Linked DNA regions of Homo sapiens: regions 1, 3, 4, 5 and 6 are each linked to region 2. Evidence: promoter capture Hi-C in 16 types of primary human blood cells and fetal thymus (Javierre and others, 2016). All regions are on one chromosome and are shown on one strand. The core of a region is centred on a gene start or on the middle of the fragment in contact, and the rest is flanking DNA. Distances in the headings are between cores, read along the strand shown.

The links. The method cuts DNA at HindIII sites, captures the fragments that hold promoters and counts their contacts. A CHiCAGO score of 5 or more calls a contact.
Region 1: a contact is called between a fragment that was not itself captured here and the fragment with the promoter of TBC1D15 in region 2, in 5 of 17 cell types (activated CD4 T cells, non-activated CD4 T cells, naive CD4 T cells and 2 more). The highest score is 11.7, in activated CD4 T cells.
Region 3: a contact is called between a fragment that was not itself captured here and the fragment with the promoter of TBC1D15 in region 2, in 1 of 17 cell types (neutrophils). The highest score is 5.7, in neutrophils.
Region 4: a contact is called between a fragment that was not itself captured here and the fragment with the promoter of TBC1D15 in region 2, in 1 of 17 cell types (activated CD4 T cells). The highest score is 5.0, in activated CD4 T cells.
Region 5: a fragment that was not itself captured here is called in contact with the fragment with the promoter of TBC1D15 in region 2 in 11 of 17 cell types (naive CD8 T cells, non-activated CD4 T cells, total CD4 T cells and 8 more); the score reaches 15.5 in naive CD8 T cells.
Region 6: a contact is called between a fragment that was not itself captured here and the fragment with the promoter of TBC1D15 in region 2, in 8 of 17 cell types (non-activated CD4 T cells, activated CD4 T cells, naive CD4 T cells and 5 more). The highest score is 9.7, in non-activated CD4 T cells.

The regions. Positions count from the first base shown.
Region 1 is chr12:71,602,026-71,606,159 of GRCh38, reverse strand. No RefSeq gene overlaps it. Among named protein-coding and RNA genes, the nearest start is that of ZFC3H1, 60 kb to the left of the region's middle. The HindIII fragment of the contact is 2,748 bases long and covers 338-3,085 here.
Region 2 is chr12:71,838,352-71,842,389 of GRCh38, reverse strand. TBC1D15 (TBC1 domain family member 15) reads right to left here and starts at 2,631. Exons shown (of 17, transcript NM_001146213.3): 1 at 2,579-2,631. The coding sequence starts at 2,608. The HindIII fragment of the contact is 6,842 bases long and covers 1-4,038 here.
Region 3 is chr12:71,703,088-71,707,387 of GRCh38, reverse strand. It overlaps TMEM19 (transmembrane protein 19), which reads right to left. Exons shown (of 6, transcript NM_018279.4): 6 at 2,341-4,300. Among named protein-coding and RNA genes, the nearest start is that of TMEM19, 19 kb to the right of the region's middle. The HindIII fragment of the contact is 3,747 bases long and covers 1-3,579 here.
Region 4 is chr12:71,586,474-71,590,462 of GRCh38, reverse strand. LOC124902964 (a long non-coding RNA gene) reads left to right here. Exons shown (of 2, transcript XR_007063366.1): 2 at 585-2,833. Among named protein-coding and RNA genes, the nearest start is that of ZFC3H1, 75 kb to the left of the region's middle. RefSeq lists a silencer at 608-808. The HindIII fragment of the contact is 7,405 bases long and covers 1-3,989 here.
Region 5 is chr12:71,647,072-71,651,138 of GRCh38, reverse strand. ZFC3H1 (zinc finger C3H1-type containing) reads left to right here. Exons shown (of 35, transcript NM_144982.5): 3 at 3,326-3,390. Among named protein-coding and RNA genes, the nearest start is that of ZFC3H1, 15 kb to the left of the region's middle. The HindIII fragment of the contact is 4,603 bases long and covers 1-3,712 here.
Region 6 is chr12:71,618,925-71,622,984 of GRCh38, reverse strand. ZFC3H1 (zinc finger C3H1-type containing) reads left to right here. Exons shown (of 35, transcript NM_144982.5): 25 at 2,670-2,775; 26 at 2,861-3,059; 27 at 3,576-3,670. Among named protein-coding and RNA genes, the nearest start is that of ZFC3H1, 43 kb to the left of the region's middle. The HindIII fragment of the contact is 1,737 bases long and covers 947-2,683 here.

The DNA.
Region 1 (4,134 bases), core at 462-2,961, 240 kb after region 2:
GGTGAAACCCCATCTCTACTAAAAATACAAAAAATTAGCTGGGCGTGGTGGTGGGCGCCTCTAGTCCCAGCTGCTCAGGAGGCTGAGGCAGGAGAATGGCGTGAACCCGGGAGGGGGACCTTGCAGTGAGCTGAGATAGTGCCACTGCACTCCAGCCTGGGTGACAGAGCGAGACTCCGTCTCAAAAACAAAGATGGCCCAAAGTGTCTTCACTGCTTTAAAGTGATTTTTCTATTTGACCCAATACCAGAGATGTTTGCAACCAATGTAAAGCTAATTAAAGCCAGGAATAAAATGACTCTGTTGAGTAACAACAATAACAAAAAAGTTTTAAGCTTAGAGGAATGTGTGCTTCCTAGTTTGATCAAGAATACAGAGGTTCCAGAATATCTGAAGCCAATATGACTCTTAAGTGGTGGGTGCTGTCATGGATCTGAATTTTCCCTCCAGTTTAAGAACAAAACAATACAAAACAGTGAATAGAATGTTAAGAATATGTGAGTTAATTGTATTTCAATTACCATAGAATAACATGACGATTTTATGCAAGACTAATAAATTTTGAAGACTATCCAATCTATAAACAAATATGACTTTTCAAGGGCCATCTTCTATGAATTAAGTAAAATTTTAAATAAAACATGAAAACTATTTGCATAGCCTTTCTTAAAAAGTATATACATTTGCCTTTTGGGAATCTGAAAGCCTCAAGACTGATTATCAAGTCTGCTGAAATCAAAGGTAGGTTTATAATGTTTGGTTGATCAAGCAGCTTAAATCTTGGAAAAGTTCTTACCTAGCGAAAGTAAGCCATATGAAAGAGAATGATAGCCAACGGTGTAAAGGAGCTGAATCAATTAGGAAGAGTGATAGACTGGTGAGCTGTTTGCATTAGTGGACATAATCAGGGCATCTGCTGCCAAGGCCAAAACAAACACTTAACTTGGCACATCATACAGTGAAATTTATGAGATTGCCAGGAGATAGATTTGGCATTTCATACTGGTTGAAATGGAGCTACAAAGAAATAGTTTCAGGAAATTGAGAAGTGTGAACCAATGTGAGTGATGAAAAAGCGTGTATTTAAAAGATCTGGGTATTAGATTCAGCTCTACCATAAACTAGCTATGTAATTGTGACAGGCCATTTCACTGCCCCCGTCTCTTTTTCTGCATCAAAATGGGGAAATATGTGTACTTACCTCAGGGGTGTTGAGATCAAATAATAGGAATTACCCTTAAAAAAAAAAAAAAGTATTTTGAGTTTGGAATCGTGTTCCAAAATTTTGAAAGCAGAGATGCTACAAAATAATAGTTTGCTTCCTCTGGACCTAATTTCTTTTCTTTTTTTTTGTTTTTGTTTTTTTGTTTTGAGACAGGGTCTCTTACCCAGGTTGGAGTGCAATGGTGCAGTCATTGCTCACTGCAGCCCCGACCTCCTGGGCTCAAGTGATCCTCCCACCTCAGCCTCATGAGTAGCTGGGATCACAGGCACACAGTATCGTGCTTGGCTTTTTTTTTTTTTTTTGTAGAGACAGGGTTTCACTATATTGGCTAGGCTGGTCTTGAACTCCTGACCTCAAGCAGTCTACCTGCGTAGGCCTCCCAAAGTATTGGGATTACAGATGTGAGGCACTATGCCCAGCCCTGGACAGAATTTCATTGCTGTCACTTGATGAAGAGCATATAACTCTACCAATGCTCAAGCATGAATTAGTTGCTGTTTGTAAGAGAGACAACAGAAAATTGTAGTCTAGGCCAGGTACCGTGGCTCAGGCCTGTAATACCTGCACTTTGGGAGGCCAAGACAGGAGGATTGCTTGAGAGCAGCCTGGGCAACATAGCGAGACCATGTCATTATTAAAAAAAAAAAAAAAAAGTTGCTGTCTAAATTCAGTGGCTCATTCCTGGCATTACCAAAATAACAGATAAAAATATCAGTTAAGAGATGGTCTTGAGACAGGCGTGGTGGCTCATGCCTATAATCCTAGGACTTTGGGAGGCCAAGTTAGGAGGATCTCAAGTTTAAGAGTTTGAGACCATCCTGGGCAATATGGAGAGACCTCATCTCTTTAAAAACATGGTCTTTAGGTTTTAAAGTCAAAAGGAATCAAAATTTAGTCTGCTTCTGTTTTCAGTTCTGAGGATTCTCAGCATGTTGGCTGGATTCCCTTTGTGGTGAAATAGAGGATAAAAACTACCCCTTAGTTCAGTACTCAGAATTTAAGTGTAGAGAGTATCTTGATAATCCAAGCCACTTTCCACACTTTTTTGGAGTTGCCTATAACAGGACATGAGAATATTGACCAATTAAGTTTACTTATTTTGTAGGCAGCAGTCATAAAATGACCTAACCAGGCAAGAGGACTTGCATAGAGTTTGCATATAAGATAATCCTCCAGGAACATACTTTTAAGAGAAAAGAATTGCTGGATTTTTTAAACCACAATTTTATCACAGTTAGACCAAATTTGGCTGAAGCTGTGGCCCAGTGGTGAAAAATCACAGAATGCAGAACAAGGGGTCCATTGGTAGTGTTCACTTGGTGATTAATGCTGTTCTAAATAAAAGTAATATCTAATTTGGGGGTGGGGAGGAAAGGATGTGAGTCAAAATAGCCAGTTGTAAAATCCAAGGCTTGCAATTCAGTGTGAATGACCCTTTCTATATTAGGATTGACAGATGAAAATAGCAGTGGCTTAAAAGTTTAAGTAGGGTGGACCAGGGCTGACTGTATGATACTCCGCTGTAACAGAGACCTAGACACCTATCTGTTTGTCCTGTGTGACCTCCTTTCCCAAAAGGGGTGCTACCTATGGTTGTGTTAAGTCATGTCCTGTACAAGGATACATGGCCAAAAGACTGAAATAGCAGGGGATGAAATTAATCCCATGATCAACTCATCAAGCACCCGAAGGCACTCGTTGAGTCGGCATGGAGGAAGGGTGGCCTTTTTAAAATTCACACAAAGGGACCATTAAGAATCCAAGTTCTATGGGGAGGGTTGGTGTTTTTCTAAATTGCACAACAGCACCACGTGGGCTGGTGGTCCTGATGATTCTAGATGGCTGCTCCACACCCAAGCTTTTTTGTTCACATTGTATTTAGCAGGAAGGAAAAATGAAGGGAAGCATGACCCGCCTCGCTTCTTAGGAGGACTCAGAAGCTGAACATGCCACATTTGCTTTTGTCCGATTGTTCAGAACATAGACACATGGCCACTGCAGGGAGGCTGGGAAATGTAGTCTTTATTTCGAGTAGCTATGTGGACTACATAAATTCAAGTATGAAAGGGAATACGTATCTGAGGAACAACTAAATATCTGCCACACTACCATCAAGTGGAGTAAACAGACTATAAAGTGAAGTTAGTGGCTTCAACCTAGCTTGTTTAGAGGTCTAAAAAAGTTTTAAATAGTGAACCTCTAAAATCTCTTCTAGTTCTCTAATTCTACTCTATAATCTTGAGTTTGGAATAGGGAAGCTGAAAGCACATTTCCCAGACCTAGCTGGTCTGGAAACTTAATAAATGGTCATTTAATAACAACTAACACTTTGTTGAGATGTTAGTCTGTCACACCATTGTAAGTGCTCAAGGAATATTTATTTAAATTTTCACAACAACCCTATGAGATATTGCTGTAATCTTCATTTTACAAATGTAAACTGAGTCATGAGAAATTAACTTAGCCGGGTCACAAAGATAGTAAATGACAAACCCAGGAAGTTGACTTCCAAGTGCATGCCCTTAATTTGCAACCTAAAAATCCCCTAGAGTAAAATTGGTCCACTGAGAAGCAATCCTGAGAACTTTGAGGGAATTATTGAGAAAGAGGCGCTTTCTTTTTGTTACACAGCTACACTAAGTTAGGGGAATGTAAGCCTGGAACAGTGGGGTAGTTGCCTTGACACAGCACTGTTAAGAGCCCACTGGAAGTGAGGCCCAAGAGGAAAGCAGAGCCAAGAGGTGAGGAAAGACATATTCTTGGTAATAGCAGGATTCGTTGTGTCTGAAATCAGATAACCATGAATTCTTCAGGCATTCAAACTTTTTCATTCTTACTGACTACCTCTTCTGCCCATTTGAAAAACTGACCTGGCTCTGCACAGCATCTCACACCTGTAGTCCCAGCTA
Region 2 (4,038 bases), core at 1,382-3,881:
AGAATAAAGTAGGTACTGTTATCATATCACAGATGAGGATACTGAAGCACAGAGAGGTTAAGTAATTTTACTGAAGTCGCTTGTAAATGTGTGGAGATAATTTCTGAAACTAGTTTGGTTTCAGAGACCAAGCTCTTAACCATTACCTTTTGCTGCTTCCCTACAAGACAGAGATTAACTTCCTCCATCACTTTCCGAAACTCCAAGTTCAAAGCAAGTAGAGTTTTAAGAAAAGTTACATCCTAGGTGGAGACACTGAGAGACTCTAATTCAACAGAGCTGGTAGCCCACCATCTGTACTTTTATTAAAAAGTATCACGAGTGATTTTTGTGAGCCTTGGTTAACATTCACTCCCCTGGATTTCTAAACTAGAACTCTTAGCTAAAACTTGAAGGGAGAGGGGAGATGAATAAATAAACACACACACACATTTTCTCCCCATCCCCTTTCCTAAAGAAAAAAGATTAGGAAGTAGGGAAGCATAAAGGTATCATGTCTTTTTATGTTACATTAACCAGCTTTCATTATTATTATTATTATGCTGACGATAAAAAAGTGAAGAGTTTTCATTTGCTTTTTAAATCAAGAGATTATCAGGTTTGCGCATTAGAAAAATAACTCCAGTGGTGGTGTAGAGAAGATTAAGGGCAGAGACTGTAGAAAAGGAGTAAAATCAGCCAAGAAATCAAGAATAGAAGCAGACTAAAAGCCTGAACTATGCGCTGATAGTAAAGAAGATGCAGTAAATTTAAGAAACCTCTTAAGGTAAAACTGGTAGGACATGGTTATTGATTAGAGAGTGTTATAGGAATGAATGCCTCCAAGTATGTTTAACATGCAACCAGGTGAAAGATGATGCCATTAAACCAGATCTGAACTTACTGAGAGAAGAACAAGTGGGTTTTGTTGGTCATGATAGTATTACTTGGGAGAGGAGCAGCTTTTGGCATGGAAAACTAGTTTCAGTGGAGTGATGGCAATAGATGTGAATTTGCAGTGAATGAGAATAAATGAGGTTATGAAGCAGAATTACTAAATATAAGTCTCACTTTAAGAAGTCAGACTATGAAAGGTAGTGGCTGCAAAGAGTGAAAAATGTTTTTCATTTCACAACTCTGCTTCATTGCCTCAAGGATTCTTTCAAAATCAATCCAAACCTGAAAGAGGGAGATGTTTAAACGGAAGGGATCCCCTCTTGAAAAGTCCCAGCCTGGATCAGTTTAGATGGAAAATCAAACAGGATAATCTTCAAATACGCAGTAAGTCAAGCAGTATATCAGCATCCACCCTGAATATAAAAAGAAAAAAACTGACAAGACAACCAAGGAGCACGAATAATCCAAAAAAGGATGCCCACCTATCCTTTAAAAGAGCCAGTAGGTACAAGTGTGTAATTTTATGTTTTTTTAAAAAAAAATTTATATAACCCTAACAACTCCAATACAAGAAATAATGATTGGCATCTCCTCCATTCTACAGATAAAGAACGCGAAAAGACAAAAGTCACAATTGCCCAATTTTCCAAGGTCATACTTCAGATTAACAGCAAAACCAAGCCCATATTTGTCATTCAGCCGCCTAGTCTAATACTCCAAACACCAAACCACAAACGCTGTCAAATAATTCAAAATGGGGTAGGGAAAGCAACAGGGAGACATGAGTGAAACTCAAGGAACAGAGGACGCTATCTGCAATGAGTAAACAACCATTAGTGTTCGATGAGTCACTTCAGTTGATTCCAGCTGTTTATGAAATACTCCTGCACTGGGAAATACTATCGGTGGCATATCATAAAGCTGATAGCCCTAACTATGCATAAGATGTGCCCTCGGAACGCGAATAGGCACTATTCGACGAAATCTCCGCACGTAATTCTAGTTTCCAACGAAATTAGGCGTGTCACTGACCACCTCCGTAAACCAGCATGACCAATACTCCTACTGAAATGCCTAGGAAATAAATATTTGGACGCCTTCCTAGACAAGCACAGGATGGTGTAAATCTCCATTTCTCTCAGGAAACACGTCCTGCTGCTCACAACCACCAACCAACTCAGCAGCTTGGTAAAAACAGACCCAATACACTCGTTTCTTCTAAGCGCACAGCTAGCTGCCTAGCATCTATTCAGCTCCTCCCGAAGGAAGCATAAACATCTTCACCAAACTGTAGCAAAGAAGACAGAGGCAAGTCGGGTTAACGCTTCAAAGAGAGAAAAGACGCTGGAGTCAGAAGAGTAGACATAAAGAACTAGAGTCAAGAAACAGTGAATCGGGGGAAAAAAGGAACTAGAGAGCCACCTGTCCCTTAGTAAAGGTAATACGAATAAAAGCCTCTCTGCTCTGGGGCAGAAGAGCGCCGAGGCCTAGCTGGCCTTGGAGCAGTAGCCGGCTCTATAACTCCGCGGCTGAACTGGCATTCTCGGGAAACCAGCTGGTACCACCCAGTCTTCTCCTACAGACGCCACGGGTTGTCCGGACACAGAAAGTCCCTCGTGTCCCTCCCCCAACCAGCTGCCAGGGAGCAAAAGCATCCCCGTCCCAGAGAAAAGCCGAGGTCTTCCTGGAGGCCGTTACCTACCTTCCCGCTCACAACACCCGCCGCCGCCATGTTTCCTGCGCGTGCCTGGTAATGACGTAGCAGAACCTCACGTGTCTCTCGGACATACAACAACATCCGGCAAAACTAGAATAACATCCGGGCGGGAAAAGGGCGGGGAGTGGCGGGAAGGGAGTGGAGGAAAGGAGCCGGGCGGAAAAAAGCCGCCTGACGCGTGCGTGCTGAACTGGGCTCAGAGACGGCTGGGGTGGAGTCTCAGGCCTAACGCTACGCTTGTGCTTGCCCCACGTCCTCCCCAAGGAAGACTGCTAAAATAATGTGTACCTTACTTGTATTGGAGTTTGTCGAGACTCTGAAGCTAGCGCAGGCCACGCCAGTTTGGTGAGATGAAACGAATACCATACTGGAAGCCAGCAAGATTTGTCCTGGTTTTTTGTTGTTGTTGTAGAAAAGGAGTCTCGCTCTGTCGCTCAGGCTGGAGTGCAGTGGCGCGATCTCGGCTCATTGCAGCCTCCGCCACTCGGTTCAAGCGATTCTCAAGCCTCAGCCTCCCGGGTAGCTGGGATTACAGGCGCGCGTCAAACGCCCAGCTAATTTTTAAATTTTTATTAGAGACGAGATTTCGCCAATGTTGCCCAGGCTGGTCTCGAACTCCTGACTTCAGGTGATCCGTCCGCTTCAGCCTTTGCCCAGAGAGCTGGGATTACAGGCTTGAGCCACCGCGCCCAGCCCATTAGCCTGGTTTTGTGGCAGTAGGCAAATCACCAGTGCACTCGAAACCTCAGTTTCTTATAGTAAAATCAAGATAGTGGCGTTGCGGTGAAGATCCAAGAAAGAGCAGCACTAACATGGAGATATCCCAGGCACTATACATGGAGACTTTTCCCCTCTGTATATGAGGTTTCTCTATTTGTCTGGTCACTGCCACTCACACATGACCTCCAGCAAGGTATTTCGATAGGAACTGTGATAATACCACGCCCTCATAGCTGCAGAGCCCAAGGCACATAGTTTATAGCACCTACACATTACTTATTAGCTCTGTGACTTAAAGCAGGTTTCTAAATTTATCAGAGCTTCAGGATGTAAACTGGGAATTACTCCTGCATGGAGTGGTTGTAGGGATTTCATACGACAATACATGTGTGGTAAAATGATTTGTAAAGATACTAAGGTAAGAATTTTACTTGTTCTCAGTGCTGTAAAAGAATGCAGAGAATGATTATATACTACCCCCTTGATAACTCTGGCACAGATCTGGGATTTCCCTAGCTCCGGGGCAGAATAAAAAGTCCCTTTCACCAAAAACACTTGTGTCCATTGAGGTACTTCCGTCTTCACACAGTGGAGAGGGGTTAGAGGCTTTTGAGTTTGGTTGAGGTAGGTGGCAACTAGCTGAACGACAGAAAAGGAGAGTTGCCGGTTATGTGACTACCAGGAACCTAATAGGTGAGGAAAGTGGTGGAACCTTAGGTGGGAAT
Region 3 (4,300 bases), core at 457-2,956, 130 kb after region 2:
TTAAAGGTATCAAAAAATTCCCTTGAGTATCCACTGTTACTTTTATGTTATACTAAAATTCCATTTTACTCTTTCAGTTCATTGTTAATAAAGTAGTTTATAAAGAGAAGAAATAAGATTTGAAATAATGAGGAGGGGGTGGAAGGGAAAGAAGGGTGATTCCCAGAGATTATTTTGTTTACTTTGAGCATGTTTTTGATTCATAGAAAAAACAAATTTGATTACAGACTTTAGAAAAAACCTAAAATTAGTTTTGTATGTGTATTTTTAATAGCATTAAATACATCTGTAATTATCTCAGATAACAAGAATATTTTGGTGTACATCCTTCTAATCTTTCTTCCTAGATTTTTATTTTATTTTATTTCTGAGATGGAGTCTTACTCTGTTGCCCAGACTGGAGTACAGTGGTGCAATCTCAACTCACTGCAACCTTTGCCTCCTGGGTTCAAGTGATTCTCGTGCCTCAGCCAGCCAACTGAGTAGCTGGGACTACAGGCATGTACCACTACACCCGGCTAATTTTTGTATTTTTTAGTAGAGAAGGGTTTCACCATGTTGGCCAGACTGGTCTCGAACTCTTGACCTCAAGTGATCTGCCTGCCCCGGACTTCCAAAGTGCTAGGATTACAGGCATGAGCCACCGTGCCCGGCCTTCTTCCTAGATTTTTCTAGGATGTAAGCACCTGACTTGAAGCAGCAAAAAGACAATACTAATTATAACAATTTCATTGAGTTTAAAATGTGTTAAAACACACTTAAACAAATTATGTACAAAATATTGCAAATTTATTTATTTTTATTTTTTAAAGATAGGGTCTCACTCTGCTGCCCAGATTGGAGTACAGGGGTACAATCATAGTTCACTGCTGCCTTGAACTCCTGGGCTTAAGCAATCCTCTTGCCTTAGCCTCCTGGGTAGCTGGGACTACAAGCACACACCACTACACCTGGTTAATTTTAAATTTTTTTGTAGTGATGGGGGTCTTACTATGTTGACCAGGCTGGTCTCAAACTACTGGCCTCATGCAATCCTCCTGCTTCAACCACCTAAAGTGCTGGGATTATAGGCATAAGCCACTGTGCCTGGCCCATATCCCAAATTTATATCAGTAATTAGCTTGGGGAAGATAGGAGGAGCTCAGAGTTGCTGAGGAGATAGTGGGGGCAAAAGAATACTGGGCGTGGTGGTGCACGCCTGTAGTCCCAGCTACTCAGGAAGCTGAGGCAGGGGAATCACTTGAACCCAGGAGGCGGAAGCTGCAGTGAGCCGAGGTTGTACCACTGCACTCCAGCCTGGCCACAGAGCGAGATTCCTTCTAAAAAAAATAAAAAAATTTTAGCTTTATGTCTAATGTTGTAATTTTTATTTATTTTTATTATTACTTTTTAAATTGAGACAGAGTTTCTGTCACCCAGGTTGGAGTGCAGTGGCGCAATTATGGCTCCCTGTAGCCTCCAACTCCCATGCTCAAACAATCCTCCCACCTCAGCTTCCTGAGTGGCTGGGACTACAGGTGTACACACCACATTTGGCTAATTTTTTATTTTTTGTAGAGACGGGGTCTTGCTGTGCTGCCCAGGCTGGTCTCAAACTCCTGGCCTTAGGTGATTCTCCCACCTTGGCTTCCCAAAGTGCTGGGATCATAAACATGAGCTACCACATCTGGCCTAATGTTGTAATTTTTAAAAAGGAATAGTCAGTGTATTATTTAATATTAATAAAAATTTAAAAATCCAAACTTAAAAAAAGAGTTGCCATATTTATAAAATAAATTTTTGGCTGGGTGTGGTGGCTTGCACCTGTAATCTCACACTTTGGAAGGCTGAGGTGAGAAGATCACTTGCGCTCAGGAGTTCAAACCCATTATGGACAACATAGGACATAGTCTGGATTCATCTCTGCAAAAAATTAAAATAAAAAAAAAAAGTAGCCGGGTGTAGTAGTGCAAGTCTGTAGTCCCAGCTACTTGGGGGCTGAGGCGGGAGGATGACTTGAGCTGAGGAAGTTGAAGCTGCAGTAAGCTATGACTGTGCCACCGCACTCCAGCCTGGGCAATAGGGTAAGACCCTGTCTCAAAAAAATAAAAAATAAATAAAAATAAATCTTGTCTAGATTCACGATTAGATCTACAAAAAAAAATTTTTTTTTTGAAGAGGGCAGTTATGATAAATGGAGAGTGAAGTCTTGTCAGAGAAAATAATTTCAAGCCTCGCCCTGCCACTCCTTCACTTCTTCAATAATTTCCTGGCTCATTAGTTTCAAAAGCATTAATATTGTTTTGCATGATTGAAAAATGCTGGAAACATTCCAGTTCTCAGAAATTCAGGTAGCCAAACTGGTTTTTCATTTTGTATTTTCCTCCAGGAATATGGTGCTGATTATCACCTTCCAGTCATTCTTAAAAGAAACAATGATTAGAGTCAAACAACTTAATTCAATGAATACATATTGAATGCTTAAGTATTTTTAAAATATCAAGAACCACTTGGAGTTATAAAAACAGATACTCCATAAAGGAGATTAAATAATTAAGCCACATAATTGTGTTTTCCTTTTTTTTTCAAGATGGAGTCTTGCTCTGTCACCCAGGCTGGAGTGCGGTGGCACGCTCTCTGCTTACTGAAACCTCTGCCTCCTGGGTTCAAGTGATTCTCACGCCTCAGCCTCCTGAATAGCTGGGACTACAGGCATGCGCCACCATGCCCGGCTAAGAGATGGGGTTTCACTGTGTTGGCCGGGCTGGTCTTGAACTCCTGACCTCGTGATCTGCCCGCCTCGGCCTCCCAAAGTGTTAGGATTACAGGCATAAGCCACCTCGTCCGGCTGTGTTTTCATTTTTAAAGCACACCACAATTCACCTGAGATCTGGTGGCTAGTATAGATCATTCTCATTGTGATAGCACTGGGAACATTACATAAAACTTCAGGAAGATCAGATGATTGGGCCCTAGTATACCCACTGTGCCTAACAGGCAGCAGCTGTTCATATCACAGGTATGCGGCAAAGTTTAAAACATCATTTCACATGCTTTTTCTCTATACTAGTCCTTTATCTAATTGGGGCGGGGCTGCTATTTCTGCAGGCAGCATCCTATGTGTACAGCAGCTAGAAACAGGAAAGATATATGTGAGAAACAGATAACTCAAGTAATGAGAAAAGCTAATAATAGAATGACCTGCTGTATCAATTCTTTGGTCTCTTGGTGGCTCCATTTAATGAGTTTTCAACATGCTACTCCTGCAAGTCTTCTTCAGGAGCTGCCCCAAGCCACATATATCTGCTCTCTTCTATCATGGAACAGTATGATAAGAAACAGTACACCTTTATGCTGCTAGGTAGGCAGTTTTATTATGCTGTTACATAGAGCTCTTTCCATGAAAAGTGATTTTAACATGAACTGCCCATTCTGCAAAGAGGAAAAATATGTTGAATTAGTTAAATATCCAATTCAAAAGATGTTACAGTAAAATACATGTAAGACTTAACAAAAAAAAAAAAAAAGGACAGAGACACAATTTCTTATCCTCAATTCTCATCTCCAAAAAGCTATGAAAACCAGTTTATTTACAAAGCTTGGTGACAAAACCTGACCAAACTTGATCTGAGGCTCTTTATGATCTTTAGTTATACTTAGTGGGGATGTTCATAAATCACCACAAAAATAGGAGTATATTTGATAATGAGCTGCCATCCCAGACTTTTTTTTAGTAGTTTTGAGTGAAATATTTTACACAGATCCTATTAGTTTTTGAATAGCTCAAAAATTTTGATGCAAAACACAGCTAGACCTAAGTTTTCAAATAAAGGACTGCAAAGCAGTACTTCCCCAAACTGTTAATGATACAGTGATTCTACTAAATTCAAAGACAGTCCCAATAAATATTTTTGTCCCCTTGTATGTCATGAGGATAAATCTCCAGGGAAAAAAAGGGCATGTCAGAACGATGTGCAGGCTGTGTGAAAACTGACACATGATTTTATAAATGATGTAGCTGTAAGACACTGTGTCATTACCAGAAGTTATTCATCCATAAAGATAACATATTGTGTGGTTGCTAATAGTTATCTCCCTAAAACCGAAAAGTCCCATTCTTTTCAAGTGCTTAGATACAGTGCTTTAGGACATTCTTATGTAGTTCTAGTGCTTAGAATATTCTTTTTTTTTTTTTTTTTTTTTTTTTTTTTTTTTTTTTTTGAGATGGAGTCTAGATGGAGTCTCCCTCTGTTGCCCAGGCTGGAGTACAGTGGTGCAATCTTGGCTCACTGCAACCTCCACATCCCAGGTTCCAGCGATT
Region 4 (3,989 bases), core at 960-3,459, 250 kb after region 2:
TTTTCTTATTTCCACATGTGTCCTCCCAATAACTCTCTACTCTCCATCATGACTTATGATCAAAAGAGGCTAACTAACCACAGTCATTAAATATTTCACCTCAGTAATCTAATATTTACAGCCTTGGATCAAAAATGATATGAAGGAAGAAGGAAGGCAGGCAGCAAATAGAGTGACAGGTAGACATCTGAGGACTGTCAGCAGCTAAAGAGACAATCTGATGTGTGATGTCTTAACTTTGCCATCTATTGCTCTTTGGTGATGGTATTTCTGTGATTTGGGACTGTGGCTCTGGCTTACTTGACTTTTATCTGTATTTCTCACTACGTGGGGAGAGAGAGCAGTAGAAAGAACAGACATCAAACCTGCTAGAACCTTAAAGAGTTGATATTGTTTCATCAGTAGTTTGAGGGCAAAGATCAGAGTCAGTCAGGAGCTGAAAAAATGAAGGGGCTTTTCTAGTGTTCCACAGCAGGTCTGTAACAAGTGGGCTTAAATCTCACGTCTTTATCCTTCACCATGCTGAATGGACTGAGAAATGCCCACCCACTTGTGACACAGAACTATATACCCTCTCGTTTCAGGATGTTGATATAAGGTCTCATTGCCTTCCTCAGCAATCTTCTGAATCTGGCATTCCTTCTGAGAAGACTAACAAGCATTCATCCAAAATGTTCGTCATTGGAAAGTTAGCTGTAATTTGATCTAACTTCTCACTCAATATGATAGTTTTTTTTTGGTATACAAGAGACCTGATGGAATCTTTCTTAGGTAAGCCAAATCTGTCTCTCTGAATCGTTCACCAGTTGGTTCTTGTTCTCTTAAAGAGTAAGTCAGCTTACTCTATGACTGTTTTTCAGTGCTATTAAGCGAAACTTGGGTTTTAGTCCTAGTTCCTCATCTGTGACCTTCGCAAGTCACTTATCCTTCTGACTCTATATTTTCATTGGCAAAATGACAAGGCCTGCTTTGCTCATTCCATAAGGCTGTCAAAAGAGGGGGAAACACAGGATCCATTAATTAAATACGTACTATTCAATGCTTTTCAGGTAGTGTGATGGTAACTTTATATACACTGAGTTATTAGTATTTCCAATCCTATGAGGCTGGTGGTGTGATGCCCATTTTTTTGAGGAGAAATTTGAGGCTGAAAAAAATTAAATACCTTGTCCAAGGATTACACAGATAGTAACAGAAGTAGGATTTGAACCCAGGTCTGTCTGGCAGTTGAGCTTAATCATTTTACTATTTGGCCTACTATAGGCTCGTACTTAAGAAAGCACTTAGTAAATTTCAATTATTCAAATATTTTAAATATTTTCCTTTAGCCTGCTTTTCTCCAGGTGACACATTCTCCATTTTTTAGACTATTATTTGATAGGATATCATTTCCCTATTCCACTCACTGTTTCATTCACTATTCTCATGGAGTAGCATGTTTTCAACATTCCCATAAAGTACTGTCTCTAGAGTGGAAAGTCATGTCCACAATGAGTATGAACCTGTATTCCATAATGCTTCTCCAGCCTATCACATGCATTTTCTGCCCGTTTCTGAAGTTTTATCATCCTACCCAATAGGCTTCAGGAACTTGTGTATGAGATGAACGAGTCAGTGTAGAATCTGAGTTCAACATCTTTAGAAATGTTCATAAGGAGGACATCGAAATGGGGATATGGCTACACAGCCCCTCCCCACTTCACTTGCAAGGAAAAGTGACCATAACCTAATTGTAGTTAAGGGTCTCTGTGGCCTGAGAGAGAAAATAGTTAGTGTTTAGTGGCCCATAGGAAGATAGTCTCTTTTATCTGCATAGTGGAACTGTAAAATCAAATCTCCAGTACTGAAGAGCATGAATGGAACCAGTAGGGTCACAGCAATCCCATCTATTTATCTAGGACTTCTTTCTCATCAGATGGGCCTCTGAACTAAATGTGATAAGATTAACAAAAGAAGCAGGACATTGTTACTTTTTCATATGTTAGAGTTTTTCTGGTTCTAAATGAAGAAGGTGTTGCTAATTTTATTTCCTTTTACTGCTTTATTGTTATATTTTTAGCCAAAACTAAATGAGTAGATGTTTTTTATTTCATATAAGAATGATTTTCTCTTCTGTAACAGTTGAAAAAAAATGATGTGCAGTAACAGCCACCTAATATATTTTTCTATTAAAATGTCCCTGAAAATAGTTATAGGTGACATATGAAGAGAGGGACTAGAAATGATGAGTTTTTTGATGTAACTGGTTAAATTCAAAAGCAAAGGTAGCTCCATTGTGAGCATAAGGTCTTAGCCTAAAAGGTGGCTTTCCAGAGAGGCCTTTCCGGAGCTCCATTTCTAAAGCACCACACTAATTATTCCCAATAGACTATTTAAAATAGCTTCATTTCCTTCATTTATGTTTCTATCGGATATTTCCATGTTTATATTTGTTTACTGTCTATCTCCCCTCCGCTGGAATGCGAATTCCAGACCTTGTTTTGTTATCCGCAGTGCATAGAATACAGCACATAATGGTGCAGAATACTTGTTGAATGAATGAACCTGTTTTTGGAAACAAAATTGTTACTGCCTTACTTTAAGCTAGTTCACAGTTTATGGTTTTTACAAATTTGTTCCATGGTTTGTTCTTTACTGTTGTTCAATGTCTGAACAGTACATCTTTCCCCTTCTCACTGTAGATTTATTTATTTGTGGATGTAATTCAAGTTCTTTCTGATTATGCTATATTAGAGTGGAGAACATTTATCAGATGGCAGTGTTTTGTGTAAGGTGTATTATAACTAGTGTTTTGTCAATAAAATAATAAAGCCTGTGGATTTATCTAAAGAAATAAGTTGGAGTGAATTTAAGTGTCTTTTTTTTTTTTAATTACATTACTGACTTGTGTTTTCTTGAGCGGGAGACAAAGGGGCTGCCAGGACTTGTTCCTGACTTTGGGCAAGTATATTGAAAAGAAAGAATGAGATGCATTCCTCTAGAGGCGACTTTTATATCTGCTGCCTGGGTTAAGAGGTGGGAGAGTAAGAGGAGTGAGCTCTTGTTTCAGCTGAAGATAAGCCAAGCCAAGCATGGACTGCACAAAAGAGGATCCCATTTGATGCCTGTTAATTAGGTTTGGGCATGTGGTTAAGTCTGATGGGTAGGTGGAAAACTCAGTGCCAGGTGCCCTGTGGGTGCTCTGTAAACGTGTTAATTTTAGCAATAATGCTGTGCCTCCTACTAGTACTTGATGGTTTCATTTTGCAATCCATGCAAGGAGAGCAGGAATCACCACTGGAGCTGGTAGGGTCTGGCACAGGTGTCTAGAAAAATAATTTCATTTCTCATGTTTTGGGGGATGGGGACCGAAGGGGAACAGTGTGTTTCTTTGTGCCCTGGGAATTGCATGTCCTCATGTTTTGGCCTTGACATAATCATCAAATGAATTATTTAACAAGTACATGAGTTTTTAAACTCATGTTTAAACTCATGTCCATGTTAAATAATTTAAGGTTGATTTGTTATTCATATATTTCTTTCTAATTGTGAGGATTTTTCTTATATTGCAAAAGAAGTTTGAGACCAATAAAAGTTCTAGCTTATAAAATCCAAACTATCATAACCTTCACAAAAGTCAGGACAAAATGGCTTATCAATCATAAACAATTCAGGAGTTGGTAATGATATTTTGATTCGTTTTGTGAAAGATTGCTTTTTTTATGATAAGTGCAATATATTTAGAGTATTAAGTACAAATATTAATACTTAAATAGCAGGCCGGGCGCGGTGGCTCACGCCTGTAATCCCAGCACTTTGGGAGGCCGAGGCGGGCGGATCACGAGGTCAGGAGATCGAGACCATCCCGGCTAAAACGGTGAAACCCCGTCTCTACTAAAAATACAAAAAATTAGCCGGGCGTAGTGGCAGGCGCCTGTAGTCCCAGCTACTTGGGAGGCTGAGGCAGGAGAATGGCGTGAACCCGGGAGGCGGAGCTTGCAGTGAGCCGA
Region 5 (4,067 bases), core at 162-2,661, 190 kb after region 2:
GTCTCTACCTTAGATCTATTGAACTGGGAGCTCTGCAAATGGGGCCTAGCAATCTGTATTTAACCAGCCCTTCTGTTGATTCTGCTACATGCTGAAGTTTGGGCATCGCTGAACTAGAGAAATGACCATAATACAGAAAGATGCCTGACATGTTTGGGGAATAACAAGGAGTCCTGTGCTAATACAGGAGAGTGAGGGGAATGAATAATGGGAGAGAAGGGATTAGAGATGGCAGGAGGGGGCAGATCTTATAGACAGAGCCTTGTAAGAACTTTGTTTTTTTATTCCTAATGAAATGGGGAGCTCTTACAGGGTTTTGAGCAAAGGACTGACATAATCTGTTTTATATTTTTAAGGCATCACTCTGGCTGCATTGCTGAGAATATTCTATTGGGGGTAGACATCTCTACTATATTCAGTGATATGTTTCTTCCCTTGAAATTTTGGGATTTCTGCAATGGATTTTAAAAATAACTTTCTGATTTTTGTTTTCTGTCTTTTGTTTGTTTTAAATAATTACTTTTCCTGTGTAATTTCTTAATTCGTCATGTCCTCAGTGTCCCATTTTCTAGGGATATTCTCATTATTATGGTTTTAACTACTACCTGTGTGCTGGTGACTTTGGCTCACATTAGACTTTCAGTTGGTAATATTTTAAATACTGTGTGACAAGAACAGTGTTCATTTTGGAGGTTTTGAGTAAAACTTGAGATAATTTTATTGTACAGACCTATGACAGTGGTAGAACAATGTCTAGCTACCCATTTGATCAGTTTAAACCTGCATTTATAATCTTTGTGTAAAGTTATATTTATTGTCTGAAATTTGTATTTATTGAATTTATTGTATTTATTAATTTTTTTTTGAGACGGACTCGCTCTGTTGCCCAGGCTGGAGTGCAGTGGTGTGATCTCAGCTCACTGCAAGCTCCACCTCCCAGGTTCACACCATTCTCCTGACTCTCACTGTGTTGCCCAGGCTGGAGTGCAGTGGCGTGATCTCGGCTCACGGCAGGCTCCACCTCCCAGGTTCACACCATTATTCTGCCTTGGCCTCCCGAGTAGCTGGGACTATAGGTGCCTGCCACCACGCCTGGCTAATTTTTTGTATTTTTGGTAGAGACAGGGTTTCACCATGTTAGCCAGGATGGTCTCGATCTCCTGACCTCGTGATCCACCCGCCTTGGCCTCCCAAAGTGCTGGGATTACAGGCATGAGCCACCACACCCAGCCTATTGTATTTATTTTTAAGGTAGCAATGTAGTCATAAGGTACCTGCTATGTTAATAGATACTTGCCTCTATGCTACGTTAAAGGGAGGTGCTGCCATTTTTTATAGACAAGTGAGATCCTAATCAACCAGTAGATTTCTCATGACTTAATGAAACTCATAAGTTTCTCATGTAGGAGAATAATTTAGTGTTTAATGTTTCCCTGTTTATTTTTGTATAATAGTTATTACTATTCTGTTGTTTTTAAAAGCGTGATCATTTTTTCTACAGTGGGACATATGCATTTCCCAAAATTACCACACTGCAAAATTATGCAATAAAAACAATAGGGTGTGTGGAGAAAATGGGGTTAGAGGAACAACACTCAAAAACTTTGTCCGTGGCATATAAAAAAAAGATAGGAATAAATGAAAAATGATAGCACAGCTTTGCATGTGAAATGGAGAAAAAAAGTGTGAAATATTAAAGTAAACATGTCAGCATTCCATAAAATAGACCTGAAGTACACCTGTGGAAGTGGAATATTTGCTACTTATGAGTTATTATGAAGTAAAACAAGGAGTGTTACCTGAAATCAGACAGTAAATTGTAATACCAGATGTGGATGGCTGTGGCTTATAACACACGCAATGAACTTGGGTATTTGATAGATGTTTGAAGTATATGTTGTTTGTGTATTCCTACATGGCTCAGATCACTTGGGTGCAGTTTTCTGCATTCTTAGTGTTTCTCTGAGACAAATCACACATAAGTAAATATAAATTTGTGTTATGCTCAAATTCTTTTCTTTTCTTTTCTTTTTTTTTTTTTTTTTTTGAGACAAGAGTCTTGCTCTGTTACCCAGGATGGAGTACAGTGGTACAATCTCAGCTCACTGCAACCTCCACCTCCCGGGTCCAAGCGATTCTCCTGCCTCAGCCTTCCGAGTAGCTGGGACTACAGGCGTGCACCACCATGCCTGGCTAATTTTTTGTATTTTCAGTAGAGACAGAGTTTTGCCATGTTGCCCAGGCTGGTCTTGAACTCCTGACCTCAGGTGATCCACCCGCCTCGGCCTCCCAAAGCACTGGGATTGCAGGCATAAGCCACTGTGCCTGGCTGCTCGAATTATTTTCTAATGTATCAGTCATGTTGCAACAAATTCACATTTATAGACTAAGCCTTTCAACAGAACTCATTTGTCTTGAAATTTGGTCATTGCCTTCTATTTACATTGATTTAGATGCTAGATTAGTCATTTATTTATTGAATAAGTCACGTATTCTTTGGTTCACTTGAGCAGTCAAATTAGGATGTTTGGAACATTGACAGGTGTGGTGTTATGGTAAAAACACCAGACTTAAAATTAAGATCTAGTTTAAATCCTAGCTTTGCAATTTCAGTTTTGTCATCTTAAGGAAAGATTTCTGAGTTTTTAACATAATCTGTTTTAGCTACAAAAGTATCTCAACAGGATTGTAGATATTCTGTAACTTTATCATGTGATGTTTAAAGCTGTTGTAGATTAGGTAATATATAAATGTAAGATTTTGTACATTATTTCATCAGTCATCTGGGCCCAAGGCTAGATATCTGGAAAAAATGTATGGATGGACTTAATTTTATTGATACTTAAGCTGCCTCTACTGATGCTTTTCTAGGTAAATGACCAATTCTCTAATGCACAAATCCAATACAGTCTGTAAACATTGCATTCATTCCAATTTAGAGGACTGGATTAATTTAGTCATCATTATATTCTATCAGTGTGGATAATCCACTTGGTAATTAAGTGTTGCTGCTTGTTTCTATGCTTTATAAATTCTCTTCTCATTTGAAGTGACTATTTCTAGTTCAGAAGTCATTTTATTAAAAGTGTGGCTTTATTTTAATATTTTGAATCATTTTGCCTTATAACTTTGAGGAATGAGGCTGATAAGAGTTTGTTCAGATTTTCATTCTCTTTAATGGTATTTCCTTTTGGTTGAGAGATTGAGAAAATGAGACCCTTTAATGATCTCTTTTAAAATAATTACCAGATATTATATAGGATTATTTTATTTTAGATTGTGGCTATCTTTTGGATTATTCAAAAGATATTATTTTATTTTAAAGGATTACAAGATAAAGAACAAAATTTAACAAGAAGAATTAGTACCTCAGATATTCTGTCTGAAAAGGTAAGATACTGCTTTGTGAGACTATCATCTCTGTAAGACCCATTTTTGCATTGCTTTATTTTGTTCTTTTGTAAGGGAAGTCTATCTTACTTTCACTTATTTTCTTTCATCATTCCTATAACTCCATTTGGACATAAGCCTTAAAGAAATTCTGGATCGACATCTTGCAGTCTCTTTTCCCTGGGTTCTGCAAATTATGTTTAATTAAAGTGTTATATATATTCATACGGGATCTTTTTTTTAATCATTTGTTTTTTGAAACCTTTAATTTTGATCCAGATATTTTCTCCATTTTTTGTGTGTTATCCTGTGTGGGTAAGCTTTTGGAGTAAGGTAGACCTTCACCTGGTGTCAAATTCTACCTCCACTTCTTGTTAACTGAGTGACTTTGTATAAACTATTTAGCCTTTGCTTGCTTCTATATTCTTTTCTACAAACTGAACTTAATGTCTTCTGTTATCTGGGTTGTTGTGAGGTTTCAGTAGAATGAAACACAGAAGCCTCAAGCACTGTGTTTGACGTATAACAGGCACTCAATAACCCAAGCCTTTTCAATTTGTTGAATTAGAGATCTGAAATATCTGTAGTTTTTTTCTTTTGAGATTTCAGTTTGTTTTTTTGCATAAATTGAAATGATTTAAATAGTCTAGGAGCTTTAGGAAAAAGATGGCCCTGAA
Region 6 (4,060 bases), core at 566-3,065, 220 kb after region 2:
CAATTAATATTTTCTCCATCAGTCAGTGAGTTTGGTTGCTTCTCTATATTAAATGATACGACTATTGTGGAACACATTACAAGATATAAAGCCTCTTCCTGAAGGAAGTATATAGCCTAGTCAGAAGATAAAATCTATACATTTGTCATAATTATTAAACATACAAGGCCATATAACTGTGTGTTAGTATATAGTCTAAATTGTATGCTACGTAAAAGAGACTAGGGCCGGGCACAGTGGCTCACGCCTGTAATCCCAGCCAAGGAGGCCAAGGTGCGCGGATTGCCTGAGGTCAGGAGTTCGAGACCAGTCTGGCCAACATGATGAATCCCTATCTCTACTAAAAATACAAAATTTAGCCGGGCGTGGTGATTCACGCCTGTATTCCCAGCTACTCGGGAGGCTGAGGCATGAGAATCGCTTGAGCCCAGGAGGCGAAGGTTACAGTGAGCTGAGATCATGCCATTGTACTTCAGCCTGGATAACAGAGTGAGACTCAGTCTCTAAAAAAAAGAAAAAAAAAAGAGACTAGGATCTGTGATTTATAGAATTATTTGATACAGGCCATGAACCCAAAGGGAAGAGATTATTATAGATTGGCATGATCAAGGAAGTCTTCATAGAAGAATGGGGACCTGGAGCTAGATGTCGAAGCATGGCTATCAGTATGACAAAGTGGGTCTCATCAGAGATGGGGTGGACCCTTGTCTTATTTATCATTTTACTCCTAAGGGCCTGTAAGGATGTCTGGCAAATTATTAAGTGCTTATTAAATACCCTGTGAAGGAAGGAGAGAAAAGAAAGGACATTACTGTTAGGGGAGTTAAATAAACAAAAAGCAACAGGTAGAAGGGAATTTATGCAATGGATTTGAAGTGAGATTGGGAAAAGGGATAGGTCTTATCAGACTGAGAATTCTGTGCTGGACAATAGTAGTGATTAAGCTTGATAAGTAGAATGATACTTGATTGTCAAGAATCTTGAAAATGTGGTAGACTGGATGGCAGTAGAGGTTCTTTAAGAAAGAGAATGTGCTTGAAGAGAAATTATACCAATGGTAGGAAAACCAACCAGAAGCTGATGGCAGTAACTGAAGTACAAGAAAAGTATTCTGGTAAGGAGGATATTAGAGATATTTTAAGTTATCACATGGAAATACATGGGGGTGAGGCGGGGGGGTTGAAGATTAAATGTCAGGGAAGAGGAGGAGGAGTAAACAAAGATTTCAGGGTTTTGAGACTGGGAAAAGGAAAGTGTCATTAATAGAAAACTGGTAAGTTGGGAAGACTGATTTTGATGGTAGGAGTAGTATTTGTGATTGTAATTGGTCATTCAAGTGGAAATGATTGTTGGCGGTAGGAAATAAGGAAGTGGACCTTGGCCGTGCGTGGTGCCTCACATCTGTAATCCCAGCACTTGATAATCTGCTGAGGCATGTGGATCACTTGAGGTCAGGAGTTTGAGACCAGCCTGGCCAACGTGGTGAAACCCCGTCTCTACTAAAAATACAAAAACTAGTCGGGCATGGTGGTGTGTGCCTGTAATCCCAACTACTCGGGAGGCTGAGGCAGGATAATTGCCTGAACCCAGGAGGCAGAGGTTGCAGTGAGCCGAGGTCGTGCCACTGCACTCCAGCCTGGGCAACAGAGCAAGACTCCATTTCAAAAAAAAAAAAAGAAAAGGAAGTGGACCTTAATTGGACAATTATCAATACATAAGTGGATTTGAGTGTTATTCACATAGAAGTTACTGTGTTACAGGGTGCTTTACAGTTTTTATAATGTGCTTTTGAAGTAAATTATGCAGTAGTTGAGGCTATGAGATATTTTTTCTGAGGAAATGAGATTTAAGAGCATAACAGTAAGGAGTAAAAGGGAGAGTAGAGTCATTAAAATGGGACTAAGAGGAAATTTAAACAATCTATTGGAAGCAGAGGCAAGAAGAAATTAAAAAGAAGGGAAAGAACACTGTCAAATGTTAAATAAAATGAAGGTAGAGGTGAGCTTTTATGTTTGGTTAGATATGAGTCCTTATGAATGAACTTCAAGAAGACAGTTTCAAAGTGATTGCATTCACTTTTAAACTCCACAGATCTGGGAAGCTGTGGTACCATTGGGTAAGGAGGAAATGGTCACAGCTGGGCAAAGTAAAACATTGTACCGTTTAATAAGTGGCAAAAAGATCAAGAAAGAACTCTTTACAAGGGGAAAAGTGTGTTTTGATGGAGTAAGGAAAGGATCTAGTTTGGAGAGACATTCAAATGGCTGTGGGGCAGCAGAGCAAGACCTCCTTTGCAGTGGTCAGGGAAAGATGAAAAGATAATTTATTCTGTAATTTTTTTTTTGTTGAGATGGATTTTAAAGAATTTAGGATAATTGCAGAGATACTTGTTTAAATGAAAACACTGATAGATGCAAAAGCTCATATGGGATGGCTTTATTCTTACCAGGAAAGTTGAGGGTAAGGAATTGAATTTTAGGATTTTGGAGATTACTTGAATTACTTCCTTTGAGTAAAAGCCAGCTCAGTAAAGGTGAATAAGATGATGGATGGGTAATCAAAGGGAGGGGTCATCTTTTCCCATTGGTCTCTCAGAGTTGAAGTAACACAGTCAAATATTTCATTTTTATGATTGACGTGATTCATGTTGTTGTGATGTTTTTGGGTAGATGCAGTGAAAGCTTGCACAGATGAGAGCCTTGCTGTTGAGGAAAGAATAGAGGCCTGCCTTCCACTTTACACAAACATGATTGCTCTGCACCAACTCCTGGAGAGGTACAACTTAATTGCCAAGCAGCTAACCTTATATTAAAAAGTGATCTTTTCATGTCTTTAGCCTTTTTTTTTCTTTTTTGTTAAGGTATGAGGCTGCAATGGAGCTTTGTAAATCTTTATTGGAATCATGTCCTATTAACTGCCAGTTGCTGGAAGCTCTTGTTGCATTATATTTGCAAACAAATCAGCATGACAAAGCCAGAGCAGTGTGGCTTACTGCATTTGAAAAAAATCCTCAGAATGCAGAGGTTTTTTATCATATGTGCAAATTCTTCATCTTACAGGTAAAAATGATGCATAATTCTTAAATATGATGCTTTTATGTTTCAAATTTTGCTATTGGCCTCACCAGGAAGTGTTTCCTGGTCCTTTTACCCTTTGCAAGCAGTGTTAGGTGTTCCTTCTCTCTTTGCCATAGCACTTAGTACAGTGCTTTGTAATTTTATTCCTAGCTGCTTTAATATATACTATACTAAACTTCTTGAAGGCAAGGAACATGTTTACTCATATTTGCAGCCCAACGCCTACCATGGTGCTAGATGGCTAATACATAATTGGTGGATGAAATATGAGCCTGTGGTAATACTAGAAGTTAAGCTGTTTAATCATTAGTTGAACTTAATTCAGAGAGTAAAATATAAAAGTTTTCTGAGTATGTCTCAAACTTATCCCCTCCGCCCCTTACCCACTCAAGAAACTTAATCTAATGAGTACTTTTTTAAGGCTTTTTTTCTCCCTCGTGACATTTTAATTAAACATTGTAAGCCTGATATATATCCCCCTCCCTCTTTTTAAAATAGAATCGAGGCGATAATCTTCTTCCATTTTTGCGGAAATTTATTGCATCCTTCTTTAAACCGGGGTTTGAGAAGTATAATAACTTGGATCTGTTTCGGTAAGTTGTAGAATTCTTAGTTTGTAGAGGAATGAGAGAGAGCACAGTTCAGTAGAAAGATTACAGTTTTTTTCTTATATGATGACATTTTAGACTGACTTTTTAGTACTTGAATACCCACTTAACAGAATACTTGAAACAGAATAAATAGAACAATAAAAATGGAGGCAAGATGGAAAATTCTTTAACATTCTGTGGATTAAACACACTGTACAAAGTAAGGCATATACTAACACCATAGTAACTCATTCTTTTACTTTATCGTTATTGTTGTTAATTTTAGTACTTAATATTATAGCACTTAATTATCCCAAGGCAATCTCAGTGATTTTTTACAAAATGTATTTTCATTTATTTGATAGGTCATCAAAGTGACTATAAATAATACGC